3 separate regions of the Homo sapiens genome follow, and regions 2 and 3 are each linked to region 1. The links are contacts of gene promoters, found by promoter capture Hi-C in human tissues and cell types (Jung and others, 2019). All regions are on one chromosome and are shown on one strand. Each heading gives the region's core, a stretch centred on a gene start or on the middle of the fragment in contact. The rest is flanking DNA. Distances are from core to core; before and after follow the strand shown. Region 1 holds the start of LY86 (lymphocyte antigen 86). Region 2 overlaps F13A1 (coagulation factor XIII A chain). Region 3 has its middle 80 kb from the start of MIR5683.

The links. The method cuts DNA at HindIII sites, captures the fragments that hold promoters and counts their contacts. A contact is called where the count stands out against the background at its distance.
Region 2: a contact is called between a fragment that was not itself captured here and the fragment with the promoter of LY86 in region 1, in 1 of the 25 tissues and cell types used here (aorta).
Region 3: a fragment that was not itself captured here is called in contact with the fragment with the promoter of LY86 in region 1 in 2 of the 25 tissues and cell types used here (lymphoblastoid cells and thymus).

Annotation. Positions count from the first base shown.
Region 1 is chr6:6,586,991-6,590,267 of GRCh38, forward strand. LY86 (lymphocyte antigen 86) reads left to right here and starts at 1,730. Exons shown (of 5, transcript NM_004271.4): 1 at 1,730-1,880. The coding sequence starts at 1,745. The region is part of intron 1 of LY86-AS1 (LY86 antisense RNA 1); the gene reads right to left. RefSeq lists enhancers at 27-116, 127-256. The HindIII fragment of the contact is 16,234 bases long and covers 1-3,277 here.
Region 2 is chr6:6,237,366-6,240,509 of GRCh38, forward strand. The region is part of intron 6 of F13A1 (coagulation factor XIII A chain); the gene reads right to left. Among named protein-coding and RNA genes, the nearest start is that of MIR7853, 70 kb to the left of the region's middle. The HindIII fragment of the contact is 3,988 bases long and covers 1-3,144 here.
Region 3 is chr6:6,087,543-6,091,037 of GRCh38, forward strand. No RefSeq gene overlaps it. Among named protein-coding and RNA genes, the nearest start is that of MIR5683, 80 kb to the right of the region's middle. The HindIII fragment of the contact is 5,129 bases long and covers 1-3,495 here.

The DNA.
Region 1 (3,277 bases), core at 480-2,979:
GACTCCTCCTCCAGTGTCAATCATGACGCACTTTGCAGGGAAGGAAGTTCTCACCCTCAATTGCTCTCCTCACTCACATATGTTCAGAGCTCTCTTTACAACTGCTGGAGCACTCACATATCCCAAGGGAAAGCTTCTGTGTTCCATCCTGGACCTTCTAGGGGCTACCACGCTTCCACCAGGGCCGCTGCTCTCACCATAAGCTTCAGACTCTCATCTCCCGAGATCTTGCTCACAGCGCAGCTGCCTTCCGCTCACACAGGCCAGAGGGGCCACCTTGTCTCTTCTTAGAGCAACTTCCCACCACTCCCTTGGGGCTCAACCTTCGCTTTATGTTCTGTAAAAGCCAGCAGTTCTCAAACTTGAGACTGCATCAGGCACACCTGGAGGGCTTGTGAAAATCCAGAATGGTGAGTCCCGCCCCCCAGAGTTTCTGATTTAATAGGTCTTGAGTAGCCCAGAATTTGCATCTCTAACAAGCCCCCAGTGGAAGCTGAGGCTGTCATCTTCCCAGGCCGCACTTTGAGAACTGCTGTTGAAAGCCATCATCACTGAACTTATTTGCAGAGGTACCTAAAAATAATCAATCCACAACTGTTCCTTCTCCAAATGACCACTCTCTGATGTCTATCAAGAAATCCAAATTATTTACCAATTAATTTATTGGTAATTATGTTCCACCTATTTCAAAAAAAGTTTTGAGCTAACTCTAATTTTTGCTTAGCCATCAGCAGAAATAGTAAATTTACCTAGTGCATTCAGAAAAATGCTGTTCCTCCCAGGGAAAATAGTGTTTTCTATTGCTCCTGAAATCTGCTGACCTTGGCACTGACTCTGGTCCTCTTACATTAAGGTGAAGCTGGGGCGGGGTTGAGGAATCAAGACTGAGAAACCTTGCTGTCCTGCAGCAGAATAGAGATACATGGAAGAAGGAAGACAGAATCTTGGCTTTGAAGAGAAAGTGAGATGTGATGTCAATGATCCCACTAACACCAAAACCAGCAAACCAGCCTCCTTAAGGGTGGCCCCACCTCCCCACCCTTCCTACTTTTTCTACCAAGCCAAACCCAGAAATAGAACACGGCTCACTTCTCAGGGCTATTGCCTCTGCCTCATCTCCAGAGACCACATCTGCAGCTCCCAAAACAAGGTCTGTTCTGCAGCTGGACAATTCACTGCTAAAATCCCAAACCTAAGAGCAGAGCCAAAGCCAGAGGAGAGGAAAGTGACAATAGGGCCAAAGCCTCATTCCAGATTCCAAATGTCATTCTGTAGCCCTCGTGCTATCAACTGCTGCCTGCTGGCTGCAGCCAGGTCCCTGGGTCCATACACAGCCTGCATCAAGAGCCTGCAGAGACTCGGGGGCTGGAGATGGGAAACAGATGGTGGCCTGCGCTTTGTCTTTCCCAAGTTTACAGCCTCACCTGGGGGTGGAGGCTGTTCTGAGGGGCCCCCAAGAGGTAAGTTCACGCATCACTACTGACCCTCTCCCTGTGAAAGCAGAAAGTCAGCACGCATCCTACCCCAGACCAGACCAGCCACACCTGTAGATTCAAGGTCCTGGGGGAACAGTATTCAAATGCCTCTGCTCTCAGCCTTTTACTTCTGACTGTGGTTCCCAGCGAGTCTAAAATTTGAGAAGTGAAACTGAACATCCAACTGCCTTGGTGAGGGGAGAGGAAGAAATTTTACAGGCTTTTTATTGGCCGGTTATTTTTCTGTGTGTCCCATACAGGCCCCCACCATGAAGGGTTTCACAGCCACTCTCTTCCTCTGGACTCTGATTTTTCCCAGCTGCAGTGGAGGCGGCGGTGGGAAAGCCTGGCCCACACACGTGGTCTGTAGCGACAGCGGCTTGGAAGTGCTCTACCAGAGTTGCGGTAAGCCCTTGCAGTACACCCATGTGTGTTTATGGGGAAAGCAAGGCCCACAGATGTGAGCCGCTAGTGCTCAGTTGGAGTTGGGGTGGGAGGGGAGAGGGGACCAGCAGCTGAACACTTTCTCCACCTGCAGCAGGTCTGGGAGGGCCACTGGGAGCTTTTGGAAGAAGGAGCGGTGGGGCCAGGACTGGGAGCGGAAGAGAATGGCAGAACAACAAAGAGTACAAGAAAGAGAAATTGAATCTAAATATAGCCATTTACTAACACCACAGAACCCAAAAAAGAACAAAATGATCAGTGAGTCTACCAAATCATCAAACCTCACCAGCTGAAAATTAGGAAAAGCAGCTTCCAGTAGGCCCTTCCTCAACACCGTACACCTGGGCTACCTTTCCATCTGATGTACTTTGCAAGTGAAGTGAAAAGATCACTTCTGCCCAAAGAGAAGATTCCTGTCCCTCTCTGGACACTTTCAGAGCTTTCACTGCAGCAGTAGCTCTCATGAATTCAGCAAGCACTTCGCATGCAGCTATCAATGCCAGGGTTTCTCAGTGCTAGAGATAATAAAAGTGCATATGCCAGGCCTGTCACCCCAGCGGGCCAACCCAATACGCCAACAGATAATTGCAATTCAGTGAAGAGAATGCAGTGAACTGTGGTAAGAAGTGTCAGAACCAACCAATCGGGCTGTGTCTTAGTCAGCTAGGGCTGCCATAACAAACCACCACAGGCTGGGGACTTAAATAACAGATTTATTTCCTCACAGCTCTGGAAGCTGGGCTGGTTTCTCCTGAGACCTCTCTTCTTTGCTTCTAGGTGGCATCTTCTCCCTGTCTCCTCATGTGCTCTTCCCTCTGTGTACATCTGTGTCCTCATCTCCTCTTCTTATAAGTACACAATCATATCAGATTAGGGCCCACCTCCATGGCCTCACTTTAGCTTAATCAGCTCTTTAAAGACCCTATCTCCAGCAGGGCATGATGGCTCACACCTGTAATCCCAGCACTTTGGGAGGCTGAGGAGGGTGAACCACTTGAGGTCAAGCATTCAAGACCAGCCTGACCAACATGGAAAAACCCTGTTTCTACTAAAAATATAAAATTAGCTGGGCATGGTGGCACGCGCCTGTAATCCCAGCTACTTGGGAGGCTGAGGCAGAATTGCTTGAACCCAGGAGGTGGAGGTTGCAGTGAGCCAAGATCGTGCCATTGTACTCCAGCCTGGGCAAGAGGAGCGAAACTCTGTCTTAAAAAAAAAAAAAAAAAAAAAAAAGACCCTATCTCCACATACAGTCACATTCTAAGATACCGTAGTCCCCCCCCAGTCTGCTAGGAATACGTTCCAAGACTCCCAGTGGATGCCTGAAATCATAGATCGTTTTGAACCCTACATATACT
Region 2 (3,144 bases), core at 482-2,981, 350 kb before region 1:
TGGCTCTTCATCCTTGATTTTCTTCTGGGCTTTTATGGCACTTACAACAGCCAGGGTCACATACTTGGTCGAAAGGAAAGGAAAATCATCTACCATGTCTTTGGTTTTTCATAGTGGTTTGCTTAATAACAAGCTGTTTTCTGCCTTGTTGTTGCTGGAAATGTTATTCTCGCTCCCTGGAATGTCCATCCACACTCAAACCTCTTCTTTACCTGGTGCCCTATTGATCCTTTAAAACTCAGCTGGTTTCACCCTGGGAATCTTTACTTATCACCTTGATTTGGATGTCCTTACTCTTTGATCACATAGTACTCTTTGCATAGTACTATCCATTTATCACATTGTATTGTGTCATTGGTTAGACTGTCCTTGTTCTTTTCCCAGACTTTATGTTCACAGAAGGAAGGAAGGCACTATGCTGTTTTGACTTTATATTCCCAGGGCTAGCACAGAGTGGGAACTCAATAAGTTCTGTTGAATGAATGGATGTGCTATCACTGGAAGATGGCTATAGGCTACATTTTAATACTTCTTTAATAGATCAAGACAACGGGACAGTTAGAATGCCAATAGGCACTTCATTAAAGCTGGAAAGTTGTTTCCAAAATTTACATAGCAATACAAAGGATCTAGAATAATTAAACATAATATTGAAAAAGAAGAACAAAAATGAATGACTACCTGATTTGAAGGTTTACTAGAGGAAAGCAGTAAAAAAGGCAGTGTGGTATTGTCATAAGGACATACATATAAACTAATGAAACAGAAAAGAGAGTCTAGAAATAGATCCATACTCATGTAGACATTTGATTTCTGACAAAGTCACCAAAGCAATTCAATGAAGAAAATGACAGTCTTTTCAACAAAGAAACTCTTTGCAACGAATGAAAGCCTTTCCAACAGTCTTTTCAACAAATGCTGGTGGAACAAATGGATAAATTTGGAAAAAATAAGATTTGATCCCTACCTCACACAACACCAAAAGGTAACTCAAGATGGATCATAGACCACAATGTAAAAGTTCAAATTATAAAGCTTCAAAAATAAAACATAGGAGAAATAGTGGCAAACATGGGCAAATAGTGATTCATGTGAAAGTCTTCATGTGGAAAGAACATTTACTGGGGATGACTATTAAAGAACAATGAAAAAATTTGATTTTATAAAATTTAAAAACTTTTGTTACTTAAAATATGCCATTTATAAAATATAACTACAAGCCATAGTTTGGGGAAAATATGTTCTATACATATCTGACAAATGAGAGGTATATACACAGAGCAACTATAACTTAATAATAAAAGTACAAATGACTGAATAAGAAAATCAGTAGACTTGAAAACATGCTGCATATATATATATATATATAGCCAATAAATGTATTAAAAGATGCTCAAAATCATTAGCCATCAGGGAAATGAAAATTAAAACTACAATGAAATGCCACTATATACCCATTTGATTGGTTAAAATTAAAAAGGTTCAAGACATCAAGAATAGGTGAAGCTGTGGAGAAACTGGAACTCTCATATGTTGCTGGCAGGAATGTAAAACAGTAGAGCTGCTTTGGAAAACTAGCCAATTCTTATAAAGTTAAATATATACATACTTTCTGATCTAGGCATGCTCTCTTTAGCTATTTACTCCAGATATATGAAAACACATACACAAAAACACTTGTACAAGAATGTTTATAGTAACTGTATTCATAATAGCTTCACATTGGAAACATCTTAAACATGCATCAATAGGTGAATGGATAGACAAATTGTGATATACAATGCAATAAAATACTTCTTAGTAATGGTAAGGAAAGCATTGAAAACACATGTAACAGTTGATGGAGTAAGAGAAGCCAGCCCTATTTCTACTGTGTGAATCCATTTATGTAAAGTTGAAGAATAGACAAATGTAACCCATTGCAAGAAATCAGAATAGTAGCTACCTAATGAGGTGGGGATTGACCGGAAGAAGCACGAGGGAAACTTCTGAGCTTGTGGAAATGTCTATATTTTGATTGGGGTGGTGATTACCCCAATCAAAAGTCATTGAATTGTGCATTTAATATCCATGATTTTTTACTGTATGTAAATTTTACTTCAATTAAAAAAAATCCTGTAACTAACTGTAATGAATAGTATGAAGCATATAACTACCGATATATGAATGTCCTTTGGTATATATATGACCCAAGCTCTGATAGGGGTGGGTAATTAGACTCATTTTTCATGATAACTATGACCACAGGAAATTATTAACCTTGTCTCTCTCAGTATCTGAGGATGCTCATTTGGCCAAAACATATTTTACTAATTGACAATAATGAGAGAAATAAGCAAATGTGGACTGAGAGAGAAAACTGAGATTTCAAGGTCTCCAAGTGTGGCCTGCTGTTTTCATTGCCATACCACTGCTGCATGGTGTAGAGCTGGTATAGAACAGGCCTCAAAAATATCTGAATTAAAGGAATGGACGTATGAGAGAGGGAAAAATGCAGAGCAGGAGGAGGAAAAAGGGAAGGATGTAACAGGAGGAGACAGGGGAAAGAAAGAGGGTATGAAGGGAACCCAAGGTGCATGAAGCTGTGCATATCCTAAAGGGCTGAGCTGGCTTTGCTTTGCTCCTTTGCTATCCATCTATCCTGGGGATGCTGGCCCCAGGAGACCAGAGCAGCACCAACCGCTCAGCTTGGAGGGAGTGCTGTAAAGCATCCCTGTGCTTCAGAAATAGCCTGTGTGATTACAGAATAGCTGCAGCATTGAAACCTCATTCCAGGAAGCAATTCAGGGAAAGCAGACATTTAGATTGCCCATGATTATCACATTCGAGAGATGCCTTGTAATAAATGTCTGTTTTTCTCCAAAAATATGGGGTGAAGAGGCATAAGAAATGTAAGCTTAATAATTGAGAAACCAAGCTGTTTGACCACAAATGGAAACTTCATTACACTGCTGGCTTTTACCATAAGAGAAAAAAGATAATGTCTGAGCAGTTCATCGTCCCCCCACTGCCCCCACCTGAAAGAGAAGGATTGAATCAGACAGGACATGTAAAAGGCATTATATCTGTATCCAAGGAGCTCATGTGACCGGGAGAGAGGACAGACAGAGGACAAATCCAGGGGAAATAGAACATTGTGTGTGA
Region 3 (3,495 bases), core at 21-2,520, 500 kb before region 1:
CATATACATCCCATTGGTTCTGTTTCTCTGGAGAATACTGACTAATACAGAGGTCAAGACGCAGACTTAAATACACCAATCAGATTGCATCCTCAGATGGATTAGTGTAGGAAGGTCCTGTGAGACTTGTCGAGAAGAGCCAGGAAATGTGGGTAAAGTGCCTACTCATGATGTGAAGGAAGTGAACTCAACCTGGGCAAAATGCAGAATCTCTTCTCTTCAGGGAATAAGAGAGTCTAGTTGGGGGTAGGAAGTGGGAGAGGAAAGTGCAAATGGAATTGGGTCACATCAGTATGCAAACAGACCAATGAATACTTTGAAAAATGGAGAGAAGTTGACTCATCAAGTGAAAGCACCTAAAATATATATCAGTTTTTCTTCTTTTCCATGAAACAATGCTTTTTTCCAGAGAAACAAACCTAACATCGTGGAGGATGTTAAAGACCTTAGATTTTATTCTGTGTGTAATAAGTGTGGAGAGAAGAAAGAGAGGGAGAAGGGTTTTCTGTTTATGAGGAACACTCTGGTAGTGAGCATTTGGTGGGATTTGTACTAACTTTCAGAAGGGGACAGTTGAAGTGGAACTGAGACTGTGGGTAACAGACATGATCTAGTGACCTAAGAAAGCAGGAGAGTAGAAGGTAGGCAGACCGGGTCATGGAGGACCGTCTTCATAAGGAAGAGGAGAGACCCAGGAATATTCAAAGCAGAGAGAAAAGTGTGACAGAAAGGGAGGCAAATAGGTGACAGGAAAGGTTTGCAAGAGGTGCAAGGGAGTTTGCTGTTTCAGGGTTCAGGGACCATTGCATCATTTGCACTTGTCGGCAAAGTCACTGTTAAGATGTCACAGTTTCTCTTGGAAAAGGAGTTCATCCTGGGTTGTTTTTCTGGAATAGAATGGATTTGCTCAGATCTAACTGCAGCAATGTCTATCCAGTGTTATAAAAAATATGCATTTATGTGTCTGTGTGTGTGTGTGTCTGTGTCCCCAGAAGAGTCATCAGGCAGCATGGGATAAAAATTTTGACCCTAAAATTCTTCCATAGCAGCTTCTCTCACAAACCATGGACAGAAAGAGCCAGAACGTTCTGGTGTATTTCCTGGCACACAACAGGTATTTACTAAATATCTAGTGAATAAGAGGATGTGAGTGAATGGATCTCAGAGTGAGTCAGAAGACTCAGAAGTTACACTGAGTATGTTTTCGAATGCTGAGAGCTAAATGCACACACCTTTGTATACACACACACACACACACACACACAGAGCACCTACCATTTTAAATGCCTAGCATGGCACAACCACTAAGCCTTTGCCACCAGGGAAATGGCTCTGATTCGAGAGAGAGAGAGAGACAGAAAAAAAAAGAGAGCGAGAGAGAGACTGGGGAAGTGTTTCAAGTTCATAGAAAGAATGAGGTTTATTCTTGCCCTACACTGAAGGGTCTCAATCTTGGCTACAGATTGGAATCATCTGAGGAGCTTTAAAAAATTACTTATGCCTAAGTTCTGACTTCTTTGGAATGGTGTATGGGTTGAGAGTCAGGATTTTAAAAAGCTCCTCCTGAGAGGATTCCAATGTACAGCCCAAGTTGAGAACCCTTGCTTTAAATCTCTGCTATCCATTTTGGTAGCTACTGGCCACATGTGGCTATTGAGTCCTTCAAATGTGACTGTCCTTGAAATTGGGATGTGCTGTAAGTGCAAAATACACACAGAATTTTGAAGAATTTGAAGTGAGAAGAACAAAAAATAATAATATTTTATTAATAATTTTTATATTGACTGTAGAAGGCAGAATAAGACCCCTCTCCCTGTGATGTGCATGTCCTAATCCCCAGAACGTGTGACTACGTTTTATTATGTGGCAAAAGAGAATGCAGGTTGCAGGTGGAATTAAGGTTGCTAATCAGTTGACCTCAAATAAGATCATCTTGGATTATCTGGGTGGGCCCGATGTCATCAAAAGTTCTTAAATGTGGAAGAGGGAGGCAGAGGAGTCAGCATCGAAGTGATGTGATCTAAGAAAGACTCCACCAGCTATTACTGGCTTTGAATACAAGCAAAGGAAAGTGGGCAGCCTCTGTAGGCTGGAAAAGGCAAGAAAACAAGTTCTCCTCTAGAGTCTCCAGAAAAGAACATGGCCCCATCAATGCCTTGATTTTAGCTCAATGAGACCCATTTTGGACTCCAGATAATACATTTATCTGGTTTTAATTCACTAAGTGTGTGGTCATTTAAGATATATTAAGAGCATGATTTTTATCAGTTTCTTTTTACTTGTTTTTAATGTGGCTACTAGAGTATTCCAAATCACATGTGGCTTGCATTACGTTTCTATTAGATAAGGCTGTTTTTAGACCCTGCCGTCCTCTGGACAATTACTTTAGGGACTTCCAGTGCACGCTTCTGACACTAGTCAAAGTGGGAAGAACAGCAACCTCTATAGGAATGTCTGGCCTAACTGAAAATAGTTTACATTCTCATCTCCTGCTAGCTTGCTGGTAATAAGGATAGAAATTGTATCTCATGCCTGATTGTCAAATGAATAAATGGCCAGGGATTTTTTTGAATGAAAGCTTTACAGATTTGTAGAAACTATAAAACTGGCCCAACCAAATAAATTGTTAGAGTTTTTGAAAGAAGTGGACATGAATTAGTATGTCCATTCAACATTGAAACGTAAGTCTTGGAGTTCTCTCAACAACAGTGCAACCACAACACTAAGGTAGTGTGGACCAAGACCACCATGTGCCTTTGGTGATAAGTTTCCTTTTTCTAATGAGTGCCTTTTTGGTTACAAGTAGTACATTTCATGTTTGAAGGGATAAGGTAGTTCCTTTTGCTTTTAGCGAATCTATAAGAGGAAAAATCAACCTAGAGTTGACGCTCTGGATGGGAGAGAATAGGAGTAAAATTGCGACCTAATTCCTTAGCACCCTTTCTTAGCAAGAGACAAGTAGGGGGGTCTCTAGGGGATTTGATCATGGGTGTTTACAGTGTGCCTTTCATGGGGTACTTCTTTATCCTGGTCCAAGTGTTTGACCTGTGATCAGGTGTCCCTCTCACAAGAAACTTGGTTAGATTGGCAGATGTCCTTGTGCTCTTGTCTGAGCTGTGTTCAGTTTATTCCTACCAACACAGCCACACTCCAGGAGAGCCCTAACTGGGAAAGAAGTTAGATTGGGGCGTATTAGTCAGTTGAGACACAGAGGAGGCAGCTCAATAAAATACACGAAATACCAGGAGCAGTGTATTACTTACAAGTCCCAGAGAGAACAGAGCAGCATGCCTCACAGGGCCAAGGGAAAGGGGGAAGCCATCCTGGACATACACACTCAGGTGGGGATCAAGAGATAGTAAGGGACTTGTGTGGCCAAAGTCTTTGATGGGCTCCAGGTTGCTACCCAGGCGGATTCCCTATGGGGAGTTCTAGTTGGTGGGTTTACAACCAGGAGGCATGAGTTCTATGGAGTCACGCTGTGACTAAGAGGTG